Regions from separate parts of the Homo sapiens genome. Here all the other regions are linked to region 1. Evidence: promoter capture Hi-C in 16 types of primary human blood cells and fetal thymus (Javierre and others, 2016). All regions are on one chromosome and are shown on one strand. The core of a region is centred on a gene start or on the middle of the fragment in contact, and the rest is flanking DNA. Distances in the headings are between cores, read along the strand shown.

Region 1 (4,091 bases), core at 482-2,981:
TGTTGCAAAAATGGTTAAGAGTTCCTGCACAGTCTTCACCCAGCTTTCTCCAATGTTATGATCCCATATAACCATGCTAGAATTACCAAAACTAATAAATTAACACTGGTAAAAATAACACTAAACTACAGCCCTTACTCAGATTTCACCAATTTTCCCACCCATGTTATTTTTCTTTCTCCTTACTCCTCTAATCTGTGACAGTTCCGCATTCATTCCTTGCTTTCATGACTTTGAGATTTTGGGGGGCGGGGGCGGGGTACAGGTATCTTGTAGAACATCCCTCACACTGGATTTAGTGAAATTTTCTCATGGTTTAAGGCTGGGAGTTTTTGTGGAAAATGACTCGGAGGTGATGTGCCCTTAACGCATTTTTATCGGGGCACACGGCATCAATATCTCCCCTTGCCAGTAATACTAACTTTGATCTGGTTACGGTGGTGTCTGCTAGGTTTCTTCGCAGTAAAGTCAATCCTCTTAACATGCAGACACTCCTGGAAGGAGAACCAAATCCTTCCTCACTGAAGAGCAGCTACTGTGGAATGAAACTTTGGAGTTAGATCATCGTTGAATCCAGCAAGCTACAGTGCCTGGGAGAAACAGCATTTATAAAGTATCGAGGTTACCGATACTTCCCTGAAGCTACCGGAGATAACGTTATGTGCGTGTTCAGCACAGTAATGTGGCACAGGGTTCACTAAACGGCAGCATGTTTTAACAGAAGTTATTTACTCCTAGAGGACCCAGAAACGTTTGCGGCCTGCCGGAACAGGACAACATAGGGCTCTGGGAAGAGTCCCCCTTTCAGAGGTGAGAACAAGACAGAACACACAGATGTGAAGTGCCTTCTGCTAGGTAACGCGAGGCGGGGCTGAGCTCGGATTCTAAAGACTCCCAGGCCAGCCCTAACCAATTCATCTCCGAGCTTGCACGGCATCTTACCCGGAGACTCGAGGTACCTGACTCCAGCCCCACCCCAGGCCTGCCCGATCCCGAAGCGCATTTTGGCCCTGGGCCTCTCTCTGGCTCAGTCTGGGCGCAAAGCGGGTCTCAGCAACCGTCCCACTTGCCTTCATACCCTCCCACCACGCTCCACTCAGGGACTCCAGAACCAGCTTAGACCTCCATTGAGAGCTGAAAGCCTCTTCCGATACCGAGAACCAGCACTGAAAGCCTCTTCCGATACCGAGAACCAGCATGGTTTTTGTTTTGTTTTGTTTTAGTCAGGGTCTCTTGCTCTGTCGCCCAGGCTGGGGTGCAGTGGCGCAATCTCGGCTCACTGCAGCCTCGAACTCCTGGTCAGGCGATCCTCCTACCTCAGCCTCTGGAGTAACTGGAACTACACGAGCGCGCCACCACGCCCGGCTAATTTTGTTTATTTTTTAGTAGAGAAGGGGTCTCTCCATGTTGCCCAGGCTGGTCTCGAACTCTTGGGCTCAAGCAATCCTTCCGACTCGGCCTCCCAAAGTGCTGGAATTACAGGCGTAAGCCACCGCGTCCAGCCAGAACCAGCATCTTTTCTGCACGGCTGGAGTTGGGAATTTTCCACAGCTTAGCGCACTGCTCCTTAGCTTTTCGCTTTGCCACAGTGGAAAGCAGATTTTCCAAGAATCCTGGCGGAGCCAAGATCGGCTCGCCCGCCCCCGCCTCACGCTGGCTCCTGATAGGCAGCTAGAGCTGTCCGTTTTGACAGAAACCTTTGCGCAGGCGCAGAAAGGCACAGGACTCGCTAAGTGTTCGCTACGCGGGGCTACCGGATCGGTCGGAAATGGTGAGCGTGCGCCGGGGTCTTGTGGCTGGCGGCCGCCCACCACCCCACGCCAGGCCTTCAGTCTTCCGAGGATGAGGGGATCTCAGAGCTCCGGACAGGGAATCGGTGGTGGCTGGGCGTGGCCGGGCCCGGGCCCCAGCCGACTTGAGGGTGGAACCCGGCGGCGGAGGCCTCTAAAGCCTGACCGAGGCGGGGCCGCCGGATCCCGCTGCCCCTTGACCGGAAGCGGGAGCCCAGCCTCGGCCAGGAAGAGATGATGGGCGAGGGGTGGGCGGCGGCCCTGCAGCCTAGAGTTTTGGGGCCTTGGTGCGCGATGGCAACCCTGGCAACGTTTCCCGGGAGCTCAGTTTGTGGCAGGCTCTGCCAAGCACTTTATGTATCTTGTATTTCCTCCGCCTCCTCCCAGCTCTGTGAGGTAGATACAATCTTTAGTCCCATTTTGTTATACATATCTGTTATTCAGCGCCCCGAGAAGCCAAGTGCTTTGCCCCAGGAAATAGTGGAGATGGATTTGAACCCTAGAAGCTTGACGGCCGCCACTCTGTCGGCGTGGTTCTTTCTAGCCGCTGGGACTGGGTGCCAGAGTCAGGAACGGGCGGGGTCTGCTCTTGGGGATCCCAAAGCTTGCTTTCTACCTTGCTTGCTGCAGCTGTGGGTTCTCAACGCCGTTACAGGTTTTGTGTTTGTAATCCTCACAGCTTGGGCAAAATTTGAAAAAGTTTCAAATTTTAAGCCATGTGAATATATTACTTTTTCAAAAATCTTATTTAGAAATCTAGAGCTTGTAATAAAAAAATTGAAAAAAGAAACCGTGTCATCACCTAGAGGCAACCACTTACAGTAGTCATATGACTTCTAGTCTTTTTTGCTTGTTTTTGGTTTATACAGTTTAGCCCCTATTGAATGTGCAATTGTGGGTTCTGTGTTTTTCATTATTACACCACAATATCTCCACATCATTACAAACATGTAATAATGCTTCAAATATGTATAACTTCATTTTTCACATCACTTCTTAAGCTGTAAAAAAAATTGATATATAATAGTTGTACACATTTATGTTGTAGATATACATGTAATATTTTGATACATGCATATGATGTGTAATGATCAAATCAGGCTATATTTATTATAGAATATCCATCACCTTAAACATTCATTATTTCTTTTTTTTTTTTTTTTTTTGAGATGGAGTGTGTCTCTGTCGCTCAGGCTGGAGTGCAGTGGCACCATCTTAGTTCACTGCCACCTCCGCCTCCCAGGTTCAAGTGATTCTCCCGCCTCAGCCTCCCGAGTAGCTGGGACTACAGGCGCCCACCACCACGCCCAGCTAATTTTTTGTATTTTTAGTAGAGACGGGGTTTCACCGTGTTAGTCCGCCTCAACACGGTGGTCTCGATCTCCTGACCTCGTGATCTGCTCGCCTCAGCCTCCCAAAGTGCTGGGATTACAGGCGTGAGCCACCACGCCTGGCCCACATTTTCTTTATCCATTTACCTATTGATGGACGCTAATTCCATAATTTAGCTATTATGAATAGTGCTGCAATATGAACATGAGGATGTAGGGATGCCTTTGATGTACTAATTTCCGTTCCTTTGAATAAATACCCAGTAGTGGTATTGCTGATTTATGGTAGGTTTTTTTTTTCGTTTTTGTTGTTGTTTTTGTTTTGTTTTGTTTTTTCGATGCCTTTGTCGAAAATCAGTTGGCCGTAAATAAGTGGATTTATTTCTGGGTCCTCTATTCTATTCCATTGGTCTGTGTTTTATACCAATACCATGCTCTTTTGGTTACTATACCTTTCTGGTATATTTTGAAATCAGGTAGTGTGATACCTCAAGCTTTGTTCTTTTCGTCCAGGCTTCTTTTGGCTTTTCTGAGTCTTTTGTGGTTCCATACGAATTTTAGGATTGTTTACAGGTAATACTTGCACACAGTAAAAAAATAAATGATGTAAAAGGATCTAAGTGAAAAATAAAATTCCCACTCTCCTAACCCCCAGTCTCAGTCTCTCCTCCTTTAGAAACAACCATTGTTAGTTTCTTTTTTTTTTTTTCTTGCAAACTTGACCCTCCTGGGCTCAAGTGATCCTCCTGCCTTAATTCCCCAAGTATCTGGGACTACTGGTGCACGCCACCACACCCTGCTAATTTTTTTGTATTTTTTTTTTGTAGAGTTGGGGTTTTGCCATGTTGCCCAGGCTGGTCTTGAACTCCTGGGCTCAAGTGATTCACCCACGTTGGCCTCCCAAAGTGTTAGGATTACAGGCGTGAGCCACCACACCCAGCTGTTAGTTTCTTATGCATCTATACAAGCA
Region 2 (4,091 bases), core at 980-3,479, 240 kb after region 1:
GTAATGGAAGAGAGTACAGATGAAGGCAAGACAGACTATGAGTTGATAATTATTGAAGCAGGGGGATTTCATTATACTATTCTAGTTTTATATTCTGTAAAATTTTCCATCAAAAAAGTTATCCACACAGAAAACAAATGAATAAAATTTGAGGCAAAACCATCACAACCTACTTTAGATCTTGCTGACTATTTTTCTTCTTCCGAGGGGGTTTCTTCTTCTTCGGTTTATTTGCGTTGGTATTATTTTGCTTATTGTTTACCCCAAAATGGCCTGCAGATATGTCACTCTGCAATAAGTTGACCAACAATGGGCTCGTTAGCGTGACATCCTTATTGACTGGGAAGCCTGGATTTTGACCACAGGACATCTGATTTCCATTGGGAGCTCCACTGAAAGGTGCATTGAAAGACATCCCATGGCCTGAGAAGTGGTTTCCCGAGGCACTGTTTCCCTGCATGGCCTGCACATGAGGGGGGACCATGTTGGTTTGTTGAATGCTAACATCAGGCATCATCTGAGATAAACTGACATCGTTATTTGCTGTAGTAGCAGGATCACCATGCTGCTGGGCCATGTGTGGGCTGGGCCCTGGTGGCCGCAGGACCTGTCCCTGAATGCCCATAACCTGAGATGGACTGTTGTTCACAGGCCCTTGCTGGGGCAGCATCTGTCCTGACATCTGTCCCGTAAACTGCACCATATTTCCTTGCATGTTTGGAGTTGGTCCCCTCATTATCTGGGCTGGTCCCGGCATGACATTGGACTGGTTCTGAGTGTTAAACTGCTGCTTATTCCCCTGCATTTGATTGGTCATAATCTGCTCTATCATTGGGTTCTGTTGGAGCAAAACCTGCCCCTGAGGCCCCATCATCTGGTTATGTGGCGCCATCATTTGTGGGCCCTGCTGGGAAAGCATCTGCTTGGGTGGGGTCATCCTTTGGGGCGAGGGCCCAAGATTTTGGCTCGGGGGGTTCACCATCATCTGGCCCTGTGGCATAAGCTGGGCCCTTGAAAGGATCATAGGGTTCTGAGGGTTCAAGGTTCCTTGTTGCTGGACCATCTGGCCCTGGGAGGGCACGATTTGCTGGTGCATGCCCATCAGCTGAGATGGTGGGCCCTGCTGGGGCTGGCCTTGCATGTTGCTGAGGTTCACTTGAGGAACCCCAGAAGTACCAGCCTGCTGATTGTTCATGTTGCCATGAATTCCCATGAGGCTGGGCTGCATCATATTTGGCGGCCCGTGGGACACCTGCATCTGGTTTTGAGGAGGACCAGCTCCTTGACCACCTTAAAAAAAAAAAAAGTCACAGTTTCAGAAATAAATATTTTTATCTTATTGGTATTAAGATACTCAAGTTACATTACTCAGAAAGACATCCATCACCCTTATATCCACTGACCAACATAAATATGCTGTTGACATACTTCCTGTGAGTTTTCTAAACTACAAAGATGTGGCTGTGGGATAACTGCTTACATTCCCAATGACCATATAATAGAGAAGGAGAAACAGTTTCTACATTCCCATATGGTATCTTAAAGATTTAACGTTTCAAAGATCAAGAAAGTTTACTTTCTTTCAGATTAAATAATGAGAAAGGCAGCATCTCACTGTTTTAAAATGACTTGTAGTGGCCAGGCTCGGGTGGTTCATGCCTGTAATCCCAGCACTTTGGGAGGCTGAGGCAGGCGGATTGCTTGAGCCTGGGAGGTGGAGGTTGAAGTGAGCCAAGATCATGCCATTGCACTCCAGCCTGGTGACAGAGTGAAACCCCGTCTCAAAAAATTAAATTAAATTAAATTCAAAAAGCACTATGGGCTACTGAAATAACTCTGCTATAAGAATGTGAAGTGTCGGCCGGGCGCGGTGGCTCACGCCTGTAATCCCAGCACTTTGGGAGGCCGAGGCGGGTGGATCACGAGGTCAGGAGATCGAGACCATCCTGGCTAACAAGGTGAAACCCCGTCTCTACTAAAAATACAAAAAATTAGCCGGGCGCGGTGGCAGGCGCCTGTAGTCCCAGCTACTCGGGAGGCTGAGGCAGGAGAATGGCGTGAACCCGGGAAGCGGAGCTTGCAGTGAGCCGAGATTGCGCCACTGCAGTCCGCAGTCCAGCCTGGGCGACAGAGCAAGACTCCGTCTCAAAAAAAAAAAAAAAAAAAAGAATGTGAAGTGTCCTCTTAGGAAAACCTCAACAATCATGAGAAGACATTTAAAAATGCTTCTTGGAAAACTGTAATAATAATGACTCTCAAAAGCTATGTGTGTGATATGTGGATGCTGCACTTCAAAGAAAATAACACCAAGGACAGGTGTCCTCTGCCCTGATGTGGTAAAAAGCAGTTAATCTTGATCTGGAAGCTGAGCCTCTGGTGGGAGCCAACTGACTAGATGACCCATCTGGAAGCTGCAAATAGAGGAATAATAAAACCTCAGTGACCCTCTCCTGCGCAGTCCCTGGTGAATCATGTGGCACATGTTTTAGTCTTCTCAGCTATTTCTAACTTAGACAAAAGTTGCTACCCGCCTTGCTGTAGTGCTTATTTATTTACTGGGTCTTTGGGATTTTCCTATAGCTACTTGCATTATCTCCCCGTTTAACTGAATAACTTTGTAGTTAATTTTGTCCCTTTTATTTTTCACTTTTTTTGTTGTTTTGTTTTTGAGACAGAATCTGGCTCTGGTGCAACCTCGGCTCATTGCAACCTCCACCTCCTGGGTTCAAGTGATTTTCATGCCTCAGCCTCCCCAGTAGCTGAAACTAGAAGCGCACAACAACACACCCGGCTAATTTTTGTATTTTCAGTAGAGACAGGGTTTCAGCATGTTGGTCAGGCTGGTCTCGAACTGCTGACCTCAGGTGATCCACCCGCCTTGGCCTCCCAAAGTGCTGGGATTACAGGCTGAGCCACCGCACTTGGCCTTATTTTTCACTTTTAAATGGGGACTAGAAAATCCCCTACAATGAAGTTATGAAGCCAGTCCATGCTCCAACTATGAAGGCAGGGGGCAAACTACCTTGTTCACACTATCCAGACTTCTCCTGAACTCTAAGGAAGATTTTCTAAACCAGCCTTATAAACTCAAAGTGGAACTCCATGACCATTGTATATGCTTGTATACAATAAATATACTGTGTATATTCATTCAACTGACAATTATTCATTAAGTACCTGATACATAGAAGGCACTTTGGTGCTGAGGTAACATCAATAAACAAGACAGACCAAATCCCTGCATCCTTGGAGCCTACAGTCTAACTGGCAAGAGACACAACTAACAAACAGACAAGTATTTTTTCAGGAAGCAGTAAAAGCTAACAAGAGAAAGTAGGGTGAGAGAAGAGAAAGTAAGAGATAAGAGTAGAGCTACTTTAGATAGGATAAATGGGGAAACCAAAACATGTACACGTGGGCCGGGCACAGTGGCTCAGGCCTGTAATCCCACCACTTTAGAAGGCCAAGGTGGGTGGATCACCTGAGGTCAGGAGTTCGAGACCAGCCTGGCCAACATGGTGACACCCCATCTCTACTAAAAATTAAAAAAATAGCAGGGCATGTAATCCCAGCTACTTGGGAAGCTGAAACAGAAAAACGCTTGAACCTGGGAGGCAGAGGCCGCAGTGAGCCGAGACTGCGCCACTGCACTCCAGCTTGGGCACAAGAGCAAAAACTCCATCTCAAAAAAAAAAAAAAACACACACAAAGAAAACAAACAAAAAACATGTACATGTGGAAGGTACCATATAAAAACACAAAATAGCTGTGATAGGGTACAAGAATGAGAAATGACTTTGTCATTGTTTTAAAACATACTTTTTTTTTTTTGAGATGAAGTCTCTCTCTGTCGCCCAGGCTGGAGTGCAGTGGCGTGATCTCAGCTCACTGCAACAACCTCTGCCTCCCAGGTTCAAGTGATCCTCCCGCCTCAGCCTCTTAAGTAGCTGGGATTACAAGCGTCCGCCACCACACCCGGCTAGTTTTTTGTATTTTTAGTAGAGACAGGGTTTTACCACGTTGGTCAGGATGGTCTCAAACTCATGATCTCAAGTGATCCACCTGCCTCGGCCTCTCAAAGTGCTGGGATT
Region 3 (4,091 bases), core at 1,058-3,557, 210 kb after region 1:
TTTTATCAATCATGCCTATGTAATGAAGCCCCACTAAAAACCCAAAAGGGACCTATCTCCCCTTCCCCTTCTTCCTCTATACAAAAAAAAAAAAAAAAAAAAAAAAAAAAACAACCCGCAAAACCCACAAAAGGACTGAATTCAGGGGCTTCCCAGAAGGTGAACGAGAACACATCTACCTGCTAAGAGGGTGGTGCACCAACTCCACAGGGATGGAAGCTTCTACACTTGGGATCCATCCAGACCTTGCCCTATGTATCTCTTCATCTGGCTGTTCATTTCTATCCTTTAAAAGTGGTCCCCAACCTTTTTGGCATGGACTGGGGGTTGCGGGGGAGACAGTTTCAGGATGAAACTGTTCCACCTCAGATTATCAGGCATTAGTTAGATTCTTATAAGGACTACACAACCTAGATCTCTCGCATGCACAGTTTACAGTAGGGTTCACACTCCTATGAGAATCTAATGTCACCTCTGATTTGACAGGAGATGGAGCTCAGGCAGTAATGCTCGCTTGCCCACCACTCACCTCCTGCTGTGCGGCCCAGTTCCTAACAGGCCACAGACCACTACCAACCAGTCCATGGCCCGGGGATTGGGGACCACTGCTTTAAAATATCAGGGCATAGTGGCTCACGCCTGTAATCCCAGCACTTTGGGAGGCGAAGGTGGGAGGATCACTTGAGCCCAGGAGTTCTAGACCAGCCTGGGCAACATGGTGAGTCCTGTTTCTACAAAAAATAAAGAATTTAGCTAGCCATGGTCATATGTGCCTGCAGTCTCAATTACTCAGGAGGCTAAGGCAGGAGGCTTGCTTGAGCCCAAGAGTTTGAGGCTGCAGTGAGTGATGATAGTGCCATTGCACTCTAGCCTGGGTGACACAGTGAGACCCTGTCTCAAAAAAAAAAAAAAAAAAAAAAAAAAAAAGCAAAAGAAAAAGCCGGCTGGGCATGGTGGCTCATGCCTGTAATCCCAGCACTTTGGGAGGCCGAGGCAGGTGGATCATTTGAGGTTAGGAGTTCGAGACCAGCCTGGCCAACATGGTGAAACCCTATCTCTACTAAAAATATAAAAATTAGCTGGGTGTGGTGGTACGCGCCTGTAATCCCAGCTACTTGGGAGGCTGAGGCACAAGAATTGCTTGAACCTGGGAGGCGGAGGTTGCAACGAGCCAAGATCACACCATTGCACTCCAGCCTGGGCGATGGAGTGAGACTCCGTCTAAAAATAAATAAATAAATAAATAAAATAAAAGTAAAAATTAAAAAAAAACTTTCATATGGGAGGCCAATGTGGGAGGATCACTTGAGGCTAGGAGCTCAAGATCAGCCTGGGCACACAGGGAGACCCCATCTCTACAAAAAAATTAAAAAATTAGCCAGGCATGGTGATGCACACCTGTAGTTCCAGCTACTTGGGAAGCTGAGGCAGAAGGATCATTTAAACTCAGGAGTTCAAGGTTACAGTGAGCCATGATCATGCCACTGTACTCTAGCCTGGGTGACACAGTAAGAACCTGTCTCAAATGAAAAAAAAAAAAAAAAAAATGCCAAGCACAGTGGCTCACACCAGTAATTCCAGCACTTTGGGAGGCCGAGGCAAGTGAATCACTTGAGGTCAGGACTTCGAGACCAGCCTGGCCAACATGGTGAAACCCCATCTCTACTAAAAAAAATACACACACACCCACACACACAAATTAGCCAGGAATGGTGGTGCAAGCCTCTGTAATGCCAGCAACCTGGGATGTTGAGGCATAAGAATTGCTTGAACCTGGGAGGTGGAGGTTGCAGTGAGCCGAGATTGTGCCACTGCACTCTGGCCTGGGCGACAGAGTGAGACTTTGTCACAAAACAAAACAAAGCAAGAAAAAACGAAAGAAAAAGCTGTATAATAAACTGGTAAACATGTTTCCCTGAGTTCTATGAGCCACTCTAGCAAATTAACTGGACCTGGTTACGAGGGGTTCATGGAAACTCCAATTTTTAGCCAGCTAGTCAGAAGCACAGGTAAAACAACCTGGGGCTTGCACCTGGCATTGGAAGTGGGCAGCAGTCTTGTGGGACTGAGCCCTCAAACCTGTGGATCTGATACTATCTCCAGGCAGATAGTGTCAGAATTGAATTGGAGGACACCCAGCTGGTGTCTGAGGCAGAACTGATGACTTGCTTGATGTGTGGGGAAAAAAACACCTTACATCTTGTGTCAGAAGCGTGTTGTGAGAGTATAGCAGGAGAAACTGAGTCTGTTTTTCTACTCATACACAGTAACTTAACCAGAGACAGTTAGAGAATGATGGCCTGAGGTCTTGCGACTGATGCGGATATCTATACATGACTGTGATTCCAGGGACAGGCCAGAGCTATGCCATTCTTTAGGGAGACACTTAGCACCCCTCCATGCAAGATCACAAAGCCTGAGAGTCATTATGGCCTCTTCTAAGCCAACTGCTAAGCCTCAGAGCAAGGATGTGCCAGGCTTTCCAACATCACCACTGCCACGGTGGGACAATGTTCAGTTTAAGTGTACAGGCTTATTCCCCATCCCCAACACCCCTTAAAAACAGGTTCTAGCTTTCCATCTCTTCTTGGCTGGTAGTTCTCTACAGAGCGGTTCTAGTTTGAGCATCTCTTCTTAACTGTCCCAGTTGCTTCTTAGATTCTTTCTGGTGCCCTGTAAATAACCCTTTAGTACCTTGAGGCTCTGGGCTGAGGTCAAGGTTCCAAAAATCTGGTGTGTGACATCTCTAAAGGCCAATACCTTTTCCCCGCTTTAAAGGTAATTACATACCATATTCTATAGCCTAGAAGATCTTACTCTTTTGGGAAAGTGAAAGGCTACAAGAACATGCAGAACTGAGGGGAAGCAGATTTTCCCATAGAACTCTAGGCATGTTCCCTTTTATGCTTTAAGTGTAGTACTTCAATATACTGAAAAGTGTACTCCCTTCCAAACTAGTTTCTGCCTAGAGATGATTCCCAGAGAGGAGGAATGAAGTTATTGGCTTCATATCTCCACCTAAAATGAGGATACCTAAGAGACCCTGACTGTGGTGTATACACTATTCCTGGAAAAGAAAGAAGGCCTCTCTCACCTTTGCCCCTTAACTCTCCAGCAGGCTGAGTATGGTGATGGTACTTTGTACACCTCAATTTTAACTGTATATGACCTCTGGCCTATTCCCAGAGGCTCTTGTGAGGCATCGTGACATTCTTGCCTAGAGACATAACCTGCCAACAGCAGCTGAGTCCTCAGATCCGTGTCTAGTGTCTAGTGTGGGTGCACCAGAATCTGCCTGGTCTTTAGGCTGGCATCCCAATGATACTTGACCGTTTCTCAGCAGTCCTGCTGATAATCAGGAACTCAGCCAGGATCCCAGCTCTTACCTTACCCAAACTGAACTACTCAAGCTCAGCACATTTCCTAAGAGAATGATCTGGTCACTGCCTCCTCATTCTTCAGGTCTCAGCTTAAATGTCATGTCATTTTTTTCTAGAAAGCCTTCTCTGACCTGGCAGAAGAGCAAGGTATCTCAGCTATATGCTCTTATAGTGCCATGTAATTTTGCTATCATAGCATTTAACATTTAACACAGAGTATTAGAATTCGTCTTTCAATGTGGTAAAGACAGAGACTTTTTTTTTTTTTTTGAGATGGAGTCTCACTCTGTTGCCCAGGCTGGAACACAATGACGCGATCTTGGCTCACTGCAACCTCCGCCTCCTGGATTCAAGCAATTCTCCTGCCTCAGTCTCCTGAATAGCTGGGATTACAGGCGCCCACCACCACACCCAGCTAATTTTTGTATTTTAAGTAGAGAGGGGGTTTCACCATGTTGGTCAGGCTGGTCTCGAACTCCTGACCTCAGGTGATTTACCTGCCTCGGCCTCCCAAAGTGCTGGGATTACAGGCGTGAGCCACTGCACGTGGCTGAGGCTCTGTCTTTTCACTATTATAACCTCAGGGCCTGACATGTAGTAAATATTTAATACATATTTGATAGATGGTTATTCATTTGATAATTACTGATTGGTACATCTCTGTATTTGGCACCATACTAGGCACCAGAGATACAGTAGTTCGCAAAATCA

What was found. The method cuts DNA at HindIII sites, captures the fragments that hold promoters and counts their contacts. A CHiCAGO score of 5 or more calls a contact.
Region 2: a fragment that was not itself captured here is called in contact with the fragment with the promoter of DYNLRB1 in region 1 in 1 of 17 cell types (megakaryocytes); the score reaches 5.3 in megakaryocytes.
Region 3: a fragment that was not itself captured here is called in contact with the fragment with the promoter of DYNLRB1 in region 1 in 1 of 17 cell types (neutrophils); the score reaches 6.0 in neutrophils.

Annotation. Positions count from the first base shown.
Region 1 is chr20:34,514,691-34,518,781 of GRCh38, forward strand. DYNLRB1 (dynein light chain roadblock-type 1) reads left to right here and starts at 1,732. Exons shown (of 4, transcript NM_014183.4): 1 at 1,732-1,771. The coding sequence starts at 1,769. RefSeq lists enhancers at 754-813, 924-1,163, 1,552-2,417, 2,084-2,263 and a silencer at 1,624-1,733. The HindIII fragment of the contact is 8,760 bases long and covers 1-2,294 here.
Region 2 is chr20:34,749,230-34,753,320 of GRCh38, forward strand. It overlaps NCOA6 (nuclear receptor coactivator 6), which reads right to left. Exons shown (of 15, transcript NM_014071.5): 9 at 174-1,290. Among named protein-coding and RNA genes, the nearest start is that of TP53INP2, 47 kb to the left of the region's middle. The HindIII fragment of the contact is 5,391 bases long and covers 1-4,091 here.
Region 3 is chr20:34,721,157-34,725,247 of GRCh38, forward strand. All of the region lies in intron 14 of NCOA6 (nuclear receptor coactivator 6), which reads right to left. Among named protein-coding and RNA genes, the nearest start is that of TP53INP2, 19 kb to the left of the region's middle. The HindIII fragment of the contact is 4,180 bases long and covers 218-4,091 here.